Linked DNA regions of Homo sapiens: all the other regions are linked to region 1. Evidence: promoter capture Hi-C in human tissues and cell types (Jung and others, 2019). All regions are on one chromosome and are shown on one strand. The core of a region is centred on a gene start or on the middle of the fragment in contact, and the rest is flanking DNA. Distances in the headings are between cores, read along the strand shown.

Region 1 (3,153 bases), core at 295-2,794:
CATAAAAGTTAAAAGCTGAGGGACTGGGCACAGGAAGACCCAGTGGGGGACATGTGGTGATGGGCAGAGGCCTGGGCTCCAGGCTGAGTGCAGCCCCTCTCCAGCTGAGGGAGGCTTTTCTGTGGCTGTTTCTCCACCTGCACAGTGGGATGACCGCCTTGGTGTGGCCTCGACTGCCTCTGGTTGGGGAGTTGTGAGGAGCCTTTGGACAGTGGATTATGTGGGTGAACTTTTGCTGCTGTGGTAGGAAAGCCCAGCGGTGATAAAGGGCCAGCTGATGGCTTAGAGTGGGTGGCTGGTCCAGAAGGTGGGCAAACTGCTCGCTACCACCGCCCTAGTTCAGGCCTGCAACCTCTTCCCTAGCCTTGACCTCATCCATCCTCCACCTTAACACTCAGCACCCTTAGAGATGCAAAGTTCCCCAGGCTAACACAGACCTGAGTGCCCTGCGCTACTGCTACCTCGAATCATCTGCGGTTCCTCGAATCACACATGCGGCGCCCCCTGGTGGGGAGACCTTTCGGTTGCTCACTGCCCTGAGCCGAGCTCTGCCCTCCTCCTAGGCTACCAGTTAGGGATCGGCAGGGACCACTTCCTGACTAAGGAGCTGCAGCGATACATCGAAGGGCTCAAGAAGCGCCGGAGCAAGAGGCTGTACGTGAATTAAAAACGCCACCTTGGGCTCGAGCAGCGACCCGAACCAGCCCCGTGCCAGCCCGGTCCCCAGACCCAAGCCTGACCCCATCCGAGTGGAATTTGAGTCCTAAAGAAATAAAAGAGTCGATGCATGGTCCGTGAGTCAGTGCAGGACAGCCCGCGTGAGGCGGACGCACGTGGCCCCGCCCTTCCCCGTGACCTTCATTCGGTCACCGCAGTGACCTTCATTCGGTCACCGCAGTGACCTTGAGCTTTCTCCGTCCGGGCCCTATCGGCCCTACCTTCCGGGACTCGCAATCCAGGACTTATTGCATGTTTTAAGTCGGCTTCACCCACCCCGAGTTCCGCAGCTCTGTGGGGCTACTGGGTCTACGGTTCGAGTGCTCAGTTGGTGTCGCTTTGGGGGAAGGGGGTAGGGGGAACGGGGCAGCACCTCCCTCCTCGCGACGGCGCGCTAGGCTCCGCCCCTCAAGCATAGGTAGCAGGTCCAGCCTCTCCGCTCGTCCCGCCCTTGCGTTTTCATCTGTAAGTGGTCTCTTGGCTCCGCGACTGCAGCCTGCACCGCCTCGCCCACTCCTCTCGCGCGCAGCAAGCCCCGCCTCCTCCGTTACGAAAGAGCGCTTCTGGCCCCACTTGCTCTCGGCTCTATTGTCCCCGCCCTCCGCGTCTCCGGCCCCGCCCCTCCCAGGGGCCGCGTACGCATGTGCGCCGCAGTGGCTCGGCGGGCTGCGGGGCGGGACCTGCACGAAGGCCCGCCCACTGGCGCTGCCGGCTCCGCCCCGACTCGTCCGGGCGCGCAGGCGCCGCCCGCCCCGCTGGTCTGATTAGCATAGGACCCCGGGCCCCGCCCCCTGCTTTGCATGCGCACGGCCGGCCCCACCCCCGCTGTCAGCTGGAGGAAGCGGAGTAGGAAGCGGCCGCGATGTCCTTTTGTGTCCTACAAGCAGCCGGCGGCGCCGCCGAGTGAGGGGACGCGGCGCGGTGGGGCGGCGCGGCCCGAGGAGGCGGCGGAGGAGGGGCCGCCCGCGGCCCCCGGCTCACTCCGGCACTCCGGGCCGCTCGGCCCCCATGCCTGCCCGACCGCGCTGCCGGAGCCCCAGGTCCGGGGGCGGAGGGGAGCGCTGCCGCGGGGGTGGGCGGGCGGGGCGCGGGGGCCATGTGCGAGCGCGGCAGGGAGGCGGGCGGGGCGGGCTGCAGGCGGGGTCCGACTCTGGGGCCAGTCCGGGCCACGGTTGGGACCCAGTCGAGGGTCGGACTGGTCAGGGTTCAGGCGGGATCCGGCGTCCGAGTCCTGGTGGGCCGGCCTGGGGCAGGATCTGGCTCTGGCTGCGGGTCCTGACTCGGGTCAGGGTTGGGCCTCCGATCCAGCCCGCTCCGGGGCAGGGTTCAATCCCGCATTTGCCGAAGTCCCTGGGGCTGGCCGGGGTGGAAGACGGGGAGGGCTCTATGTCTGGGAAGGGGCTCTGAAGACCACGTGGGGGCGCTCGAAGGGGCCTGGGGCCACCCTCCTCTCTGGGTCAAAGGTCATCGCACCGGCAGGGGAGAACTTCCTCCTCCTTGGCTCTCCCCACTTACTTCCTGATAACCTGGTAGAGGTCTCCCGCGGGCGGGGAGGGGGAGGCGTAGCAACTTTAGGCAACTTCCCAAAGGTGTGCGCAGGTTGGGGGCGGGACGCGGCGCCCCGGGAGGTGGCGGCCTCTGCGACAGCGGGAGTATAAGAGTGGACCTGCAGGCTGGTCGCGAGGAGGTGGAGCGGCGCCCGCCGTGTGCCTGGGACCGGCATGCTGGGGCAGGAGGGCAGCCGCGTGTCAGGTGTGAAAAGCTCTGGAGGTGTTTTCATGAGTCCGTGCCTGTGCGTGTGGATGTGGGGAGACCTAGTGAGAGTGTGTGTGATCATGAGCCTTGACTGAGTTCGTGGATGGGGTGTGCGCTCCAGGAGAAGTGTGTGAGCACAAGTGTGAGCAGGAGTGAGCACGGGTTTGGGAAGGCCGGTGCAAGTGTGAAAGCCCTCAGCAGAGAGCGAGCCTGCGTGGGCTTGTGGGGCTCCTGAGCACCCCGGTGAGTGGAGTGTGTGAACTCGGTGTGAGCACGTCCACTGGCCTTGGGTCTGCTCTCCAATGCAGAATACCCAGATGAGGGCAGGGTCTCAGAGGTCCCCCCAACATCTGGAGAAAACTGGGAAGTATCCTGCTCCTGGCTAGGGATTCCAGGTGGGGTTGAAGGTTGCCTGGGGGCTACGGTTACCCTGCTCCCTGGCCTGGGTGGGAGTAGGGGCTTTCTAAGCCTCCCCCAGGTTCCCAAGGGGGAGACCTGCTGTCAGTTACTGGCCCTGAAGACTCTGTTTCCATGGCAACAGCTAGGAGGGGGCAGTGTTCCTGGGCAGTCCTTCCTTGGACTCTGCCCCCCTTCTTCCCCACTTGCTGGGCTTGGAAGCCTGGCCCTAGGCCCGAGGTTGGGCAACCCGTGTGGCAGGGTGTCTCCCATCCCCCATACCAG
Region 2 (3,525 bases), core at 947-3,446, 360 kb after region 1:
CCTGACCTCAAATGATCCACCCACTTCGGCCTCCCAAAGTGCTGGAATTACAGGCGTGAGCCACAGCGCCCGGCCTAGTGAGTTAATTTTTTTTTAAGTTGAATGGCTCTAGACAGAAGGGAGGCATGGCTGGGAAGATATATTCTTTTTTCTCTGAGACAGAGTCTCGCTCTGTCGCTCAAGCTGGAGTGAAGTGGCACAATCTAGGCTCACTGCAAGCTCCGCCTCCCAGGTTCACGCCATTCTCCTGCCTCAGCCTTCCAAGTAGCTGGGACTACAGGTGCCCGCCACCACACCCAGCTAATTTTTTGTATTTTTAGTAGAGATGGGGTTTCGCCGTGTTAGCCAGGATGGTCTCGATCTCCTGACCTCCTGATCTGCCCACCTCCGCCTCCCAAAGTGCTGGGATTACAGGCATGAGGCATCGCACCCGGCCGGAAGATATATTCTTAAAGGTGAATGGGGTATCTACTCTATGTTGGCCACTGTGCTAATGCTTCCACAGATGTGCTCTTATTTTCTCCTCTCGATGGCCCTTGTGGGGTTATTCCTTCTACAGATAAGGAAACAGAGTCTCACATGCAGCAAGTAGGGGAGCTGAGGTGTAATCCAGGTCTGACTGATGCCAAATGCTGTGCTCTTTCTGCCAATGTCCGATGACAGAAAGGACAATTGGGAAGACGTGAGGGGGGTGGAGGAGAAGCGGCAGGGAAGAATATAGGAAATGGTGTAGAAGAGACCCGCTGAAGAGAGACGGAGAGGATGTCAGGGCAGATGGAAAGGGGTGGCCCATGGAAGGGGAAGGGTCCAGAGGCCTCCTGACCTTTTCGCCCATCCCTCTGGAAGTCCACGTGACACCACTCGCCATCATTGACCTTGCGGCTGGATGCCCGCAGCTTGATGCCCCCAGATCCCATGTCCAGCAGAAGATAGAGGTGGCCGTCCAATAGCTCCATGGCAAAGTAGTCGGCCCGCTGAGCAGAGCTGTGGCTGCCAGCTCCACCCCCAGCCCGCCGGCCCTGGCTGAAGAGCAGCAGCCCATTGGGCTCGGTGGTGCGGAAGTCTAGGGAGATGGAGCCAGTGCGCTTAGCGCTCCAGCGGGGCAGCGCCACAAAGGCCTCGGGACTCTCAAAGGTCACAGGGTCCAGGGCAGCCACATCCTCACAGCGGAATGACAAGTCCCCCTGCAGCTTCATCTTGGGGTCCCCTTCCTTTGCCAGGCGGGATAGTTCCAATTTGAAGTCATTGTTCTTATAGACCACCTGCAGGGAGGGGTGGGGTCAGGGATAAAGAATCCGAAAGCAGCTTAGGGCCTGGCCACTCCCACCCAGCAGCGAGCACCAGGGGACCCAGCCACCCACCCCTGTAGCCCCTGCTCAGTTCCACCAGACCACCCGCTTAGGCCTCTGTTCTACAGCTTCAGACACAGAGGCTGTGAACAAGCACCTCCCTTGCCCGTCCTCTGTCCTGTCTTCTGGCCCAGCAGGAGCATGGTGGCTTGCCTGTGGGTTCTCAGTGCCCACTAAATTGCAGTTCATAATAATGACAAGGCCACTGACGTGTGGTAGCTGTTTTCCACTCAATGAAGTATGTTCACTTACACTCTCATGTGCCCCTCACAACCTTATGAAGTAGGCACTGACTACCCATCCACAGAGGAGGAAACTCAGCATCAGACAGTCAAGTGACTTGACCACAGTCACAGAACCAATGAGTGGAAGAGTTGGGACTCAAGCAAGGTCTTTAGTCTTCATACCCAGCATTCTTTCCTCTGTACCACAGCTGCCTTTGAGGGTCCTCTATGAGGATAGGGGTTTCCAAGGCTCAAGGAAATCAAAGGGGAGAAGCCTCTTGATGGAGTCAGTGGGCCTTAGGTTTTAAAGAGGGGGTGTCTCCCACCATGGACTTGGAAGGAACAGATGACCCAGACAACTAGCCAGGTCAGACTAAGTCACGCTGAAGACAGGAGACAAAGGGCTCCTGAACAGCCTGCAGCCCCTCCCTAGCCCTACTCACGTCCTTGAGGCAGCCCATGAAGTTGTTGCTGACGGGCGAGCCCGGCAGGTCAGCTGTGTTGGGGCTGCCCCCAATGTAGAAGAAGTCATCAGAGCCCAGCATGGTGTAATCCTCCTGCGTGTAGCCTGTGGTGGTCAGGATCCCGTCCACCGAGATGGTCACCTGTCCAGCCCAGGAGGGAGGGAGAAAGACAGGAGACAACCAACATCAAATCCCTAGGAAGAGCTACGGCTAGGCAAAGGAGGGGCCAGAGGGCAGCAGGGGAGGGGGACCCCCATTTTTATGTCTGCTTGTCTTGGAGGAGGAACAGTGGGGGAAGAGAGGAAATGAGGAAAAGGAGGCAGCACAAGATTTGATGGTTTCAGGGTGGGCTAAGACCTGCCCTCTGGCCCCCAACTCAGCAGGCAGGAGCCTGAAGGGTACTTGGAGAGCTCCCCATGAGGTCCCCCAAGAAGTAGTTCCTGGAGGGCACTCTGAACAGGAATGGGGGCTCCAGGACGGATCCCCCATTCTGGGGCACAGGATGGGTGCAAATGGCATCCTCACTTTTCTTCTCCTGAAGGTACTCTCTGGACACACACGTAACTCCAGAACTTCTTTCAAAAGTGTGCCAGAGAATGGTGTTCCCCAGACCTTGGTGGCTTAGACTCACCTGCAGCCCTCTCTGCTGGGTGCTGGAAAGTCTTTCAGTCTGGACCCAGTAGGGAGATGGAAGATAGCAGTGTGAGGAGCAGGAACTCAAATATTCCTGGGAAGTCTTGAAACTTTCTGGGGTTGCCTATTGGGGTTGATTTCCACCCCTGCAGCCCAATCTCCAGGTTTGCACTTCTAGCCCTTTCCTGAGTCTGTCTCTTCACTCCTCAGGTCTCCTTATATTCAGGTCACTCTCTTGCCTCCAAAGGAGAGGGGAGCCCTTTAGCTACATCAACCCACTCTTCCTTCTTCCTGTCTAATTGCCTTGTCTACTGACACCACTAGAGTTACTCCAGGGAGTCAGGGCCAGCTTAGGGAACAGACGGGGACAGGGCTAACTTAATGAATACCTTGCCCCTGGGCTGAAAGTTCAGTAAGAAAGCAGGATGAGCAGGAATGGGGGAGTACTTGGTATTCCAGGAGGCAGGGGGGCTCAGCGGTGGCCTGGAGAATGCAGAAGTAATCTTAGATGGGGCGGGGCATGACAAGGACAGGAAACTCTCCAACTCTCCCAGTCTCCCCAGGCAAATGCCCACCTTCTCCAAAAAATCTAACTCTACAAGCAGCCCACAAGGTTCAAGACACCCAGAAAGGTTGTGGGAGAAGGGCCAAGGGCTATGAGACCACGAGCCCCTACTCTAGGAAGGCAGTGGTTTGGAAGGGTCAGCTGGGAAAGAAGGCAGAGCTCTGCAGGGTCAACAGGAAGCTGGCTCAGGGTTAGCCCAACACTGTGCTTCTGCAGGCCACAGCTCACCCCATTTCTCTTTCGGGAACAGTCTAGAGATTGGGGCCTTCCAGTCACATCCTATGCCCTCC
Region 3 (3,618 bases), core at 248-2,747, 400 kb after region 1:
GGTGAAACCCCGTCTCTACTAAAAATACATTAGCCAGGTGTGGTGGCGGGCGCCTGTAGTCCCAGCTACTCAGGAGGACGAGGCAGGAGAATGGCGTGAACCCGGGAGGCAGAGCTTGCAGTGAGGCAAGATCACGCCACTGTACTCCAGCCTTGGAGACAGCGAGACTCCGTCTCAAAAAAAAAAAAAAAGAAAAATGAGTCTAAAGGTTAGGTACTCACCTAATGTCATGGGCCTAGGGAGTAGAGAAGACAGATTTAAACCCAGACCAGAGCCACAGAAGTCTGTGGTTTAATCACTAAGCCACACTGCTTTACTGCATCTCTGGGCCACACACTATTGTGCTGTTTTTTTGCTACTATGTATTGAGCATTTTCTATGTACCAGGCACTGTTCTAAGCACTTTACATGAACTAGCTAATTTAATTTTCACAACAACTCTATAAAGTAGGTACCATTATTATCTTCATTTATAGATAAGGAAATGGGGGCAAAGAGAGTTTAAGTATAAAGTCACTGCCTGGGCAGTCTGGAGGCAGAATCTCTTAACAACACACTGGACAGCTTTTTTATCTGCTTCCTCAATTTAATAGTCAACTCCCAGACTGGGTGTGGTGGCTTACACCTGTAATCCCAACACTTTGGGAGGCCAAGGCAGGCGGATCACCTGAGGTCAGGAGTTCAAGACCAGCCTGACCAACATGGAGAAACCCCATCTCTACTAAAAATACAAAATTAGCCAGGCGTGGTGGTGCATGCCTATAATCCCAGCTACTATGGAGGCTGAGGCAGGAGAATCACTTTGCTTGAACCCGGAAGGCAGAGGTTGTGGTGAGCCAAGATTGTGCCATTGCACTCCAGCCTGGGCAACAGGAGCGAAACTCCGTCTCAAAAAAAAAAAAAAAGTCAACTCCCAGAGCACAGAGTCATCTTATTCATCTCTGACCACACTGTAGCCCCCAACACACAGCCTAGCACAAAAGAGGCCTTGGCAACTACCTGTTGAATTAAATCACTATCACAAAACACATGAGACACGTGTGTCTACCTCCCTGCAAGCACACACATTACGACTAGTTTCCTATTTTTCTCCTGAGCAAATAGTATACACCTGACACTCTGTCCTGAACACCTGCATCATCACTCCACCTGAGGTCTCACACACATGCCTGCACATCCCTTCTTCTTTAATCCCTTTTTAGCCCCTTCTCCACACACACAGGTGACATGAGGAAGCACTGTCATGCAAACCACTGCAAGATCCCAGTCTACTCTATCCCAGCTTTGGCAGATAATCAGCAACGGTAGACAGACTCAGCCACTCCCACTGAGCTCTGTCTTCAATTACGTGTGGCCAGATCTCTGAGAGAGAGAGAGAAAATGCAAATTTCCTAGCATGGAGGTTCTCCGTCAATGAGTAAGCCCAGACCCTGGGAGAGCAGGAGGGATTCCAAAGGATACACAAATTCGTATGCACACCAAACATCTGAAGGCAGATTGAAACATCTTGCATATAAAGCTAAAACCATTTTTCTAATGTATATTTTATTAACCACAATGGCAAATATAATATCAAAGTCATCTAAAAGCTTTTCCAAATTCACAGTGGCTTTGAGTCATTTATACTCACACTAAACAGATATAAAAATAATAACTGGAAGGGGTACTGTGAATTACTGACTTTTAAAAATGTCCTCAGTTGGCCAGGCGCAGTGGCTCACACCTGTAATCCCAGCACTTTGAGAGGCCAATGCGGGCGGATCACTTGAGGCCGGGAGTTCGAGACCAGCCTGACCAACATGGTGAAAACCCGTCTCTACTAAAAATACAAAAATTAGCTGGACATAGTGGCGGGCGCCTGTAATCCCAGCTACTCAGGAGGCTGAGGCAGGAGAATCGCTTGAGCCCAGGAGGTGGAGATTGCAGTGAGCTGAGATCGTGCCATCGCACTCCAGCCTAGGCACAGAGCGAGACTCCATCTCAAAAAAAAAAAAAAAAAAAAAAAGTCCTCAGTCTCAGAAAGAGTTGGGAACCATTCACAACAGATGATAAAGTGATTATAACTCCAAGGAAGCCTGGGGATTCTGACCCCTAGAGTTGTGTCAGAGAGCAGGAGCCAGGCCTGCTCCCCTTAAAGTCTTCCTTCCTCACCCCAATACCCAACCATGGGAGCCCATGCCTTTCCTCCTTGACTGGATGAGAAAGTACTCGAAGTATAATGAGCACAAGATATTATAAAAGCTACCTAGGAAATAAGGAACAAATAGAAGAAGAAATGAGGTTGCAGAGTGGGGAGAGAAAAGAAGGGAATCAGTAGGGTTATTGCTGTGCCTGTCATCTCCAGATGCAATCAGTGCCTACAACCCCCATGCCCACCCACAACATATATCTGAAAATATATACATACATGTTTTCATATGTACATACAGCTTTGCCTCAAGCCTTTATTCTCTCAATTACTTATTAATATCTCTCCATTCATTCCACAAATCTTTATCAAACACCCACTAAGTGCCTGGTACCAGATTAGGTGCTGGGAATACAGAAATGAATAAAGACACAACCCTCCCCCTTTACCACAAAGCACTGCTCTCTCAACAGATACCACACACACATCACACACACTCCACATATACACAAGCAACCCTGCCCCTACCAGCTGGCGCCCGCCTTATATCTCACTTTCCCTTTTCTTCTTCCTTTTTTTTTTTTTTTTTGAGATGGAGTCTCACTTTGTCACCCAGGCTGGAGTGCAGTGGTGCCATCTCAGCTCACTGCAACCTACACCTCCCAGGTTCAAGCAATTCTCCTGCCTCAGCTTCCCAAGCAGTGGGGATTACAAGTGCCCGCCACCATGCCTGGCTGATTTTTGTATTTTTAGTAGAGACGGGGTTTTACCATGTTGGCCAGGCTGGTCTCGAACTCCCGACCTCAAGTAATCTGCCCGCTTCAGCCTCCCAAAGTGCTGGGATTACAGGCGTGAGCCACTGCACCTGGCTCACGTTTCTTTTTCTTACATGACTCTCTCTCACACACACACAGACACACACACACACAATGGGTCAGATACATATATTCAACCATCTCTCACAGCTTCACCACAGCTGACACAAACATTCATCTGATACCAAGCCATATTATACACACAGCCATCCCTCTCACACAGTTACTCAAACACATCTTAGACACACAACCACACAACCCGTATTCAGAAGCATGCACTTGTTTGCCTCACTGGAAGCCTCTGGCCAATGAATCCTCTCAGGGAATGGATACAAAGGCTCTGGTTGACCAAGGTGCCTCTGGCTGCATTTTTCACACACCCAAGCCCAATTCAGCCACAGTGAGGCCAGGGACCGGTTACCCTAACCTCCCGTAGCTCGAGCTTTCCCTCCATCAAATCAGAGGATGATTCATCCTGTTTTCTTAGGCAGGCTTTGGGGGAAGGGTAGAGGAACCAGAGGATCAAATTAAGGTTCTGGAAAGAAAGAGTCCTCATGCAATCCGGCTGTCTTACTGAGGCCTCACGTTAAAACACAAGCACATGAGCAGACACCCTCACACTTGGGAACTACTCACTCTACTAGGCACTAGACTCCTCTATCTGCAAACACTGGT

What was found. Contacts are between HindIII fragments. The study calls those that stand out against the background at their distance.
Region 2: a fragment that was not itself captured here is called in contact with the fragment with the promoter of ESRRA in region 1 in 1 of the 25 tissues and cell types used here (dorsolateral prefrontal cortex).
Region 3: a fragment that was not itself captured here is called in contact with the fragment with the promoter of ESRRA in region 1 in 1 of the 25 tissues and cell types used here (hippocampus).

What each region holds. Positions count from the first base shown.
Region 1 is chr11:64,303,980-64,307,132 of GRCh38, forward strand. ESRRA (estrogen related receptor alpha) reads left to right here and starts at 1,545. Exons shown (of 7, transcript NM_004451.5): 1 at 1,545-1,757. It overlaps CATSPERZ (catsper channel auxiliary subunit zeta), which reads left to right. Exons shown (of 5, transcript NM_001039496.2): 5 at 564-791. The coding sequence ends at 667. It overlaps KCNK4-CATSPERZ (KCNK4-CATSPERZ readthrough (NMD candidate)), which reads left to right. Exons shown (of 11, transcript NR_133662.1): 11 at 564-790. RefSeq lists a silencer at 1,252-1,761 and an enhancer at 2,172-2,241. The HindIII fragment of the contact is 12,153 bases long and covers 1-3,153 here.
Region 2 is chr11:64,666,427-64,669,951 of GRCh38, forward strand. NRXN2 (neurexin 2) reads right to left here. Exons shown (of 23, transcript NM_015080.4): 8 at 2,017-2,178; 9 at 824-1,262. Among named protein-coding and RNA genes, the nearest start is that of NRXN2-AS1, 24 kb to the left of the region's middle. The HindIII fragment of the contact is 7,810 bases long and covers 1-3,525 here.
Region 3 is chr11:64,707,209-64,710,826 of GRCh38, forward strand. All of the region lies in intron 2 of NRXN2 (neurexin 2), which reads right to left. Among named protein-coding and RNA genes, the nearest start is that of NRXN2, 14 kb to the right of the region's middle. The HindIII fragment of the contact is 7,389 bases long and covers 1-3,618 here.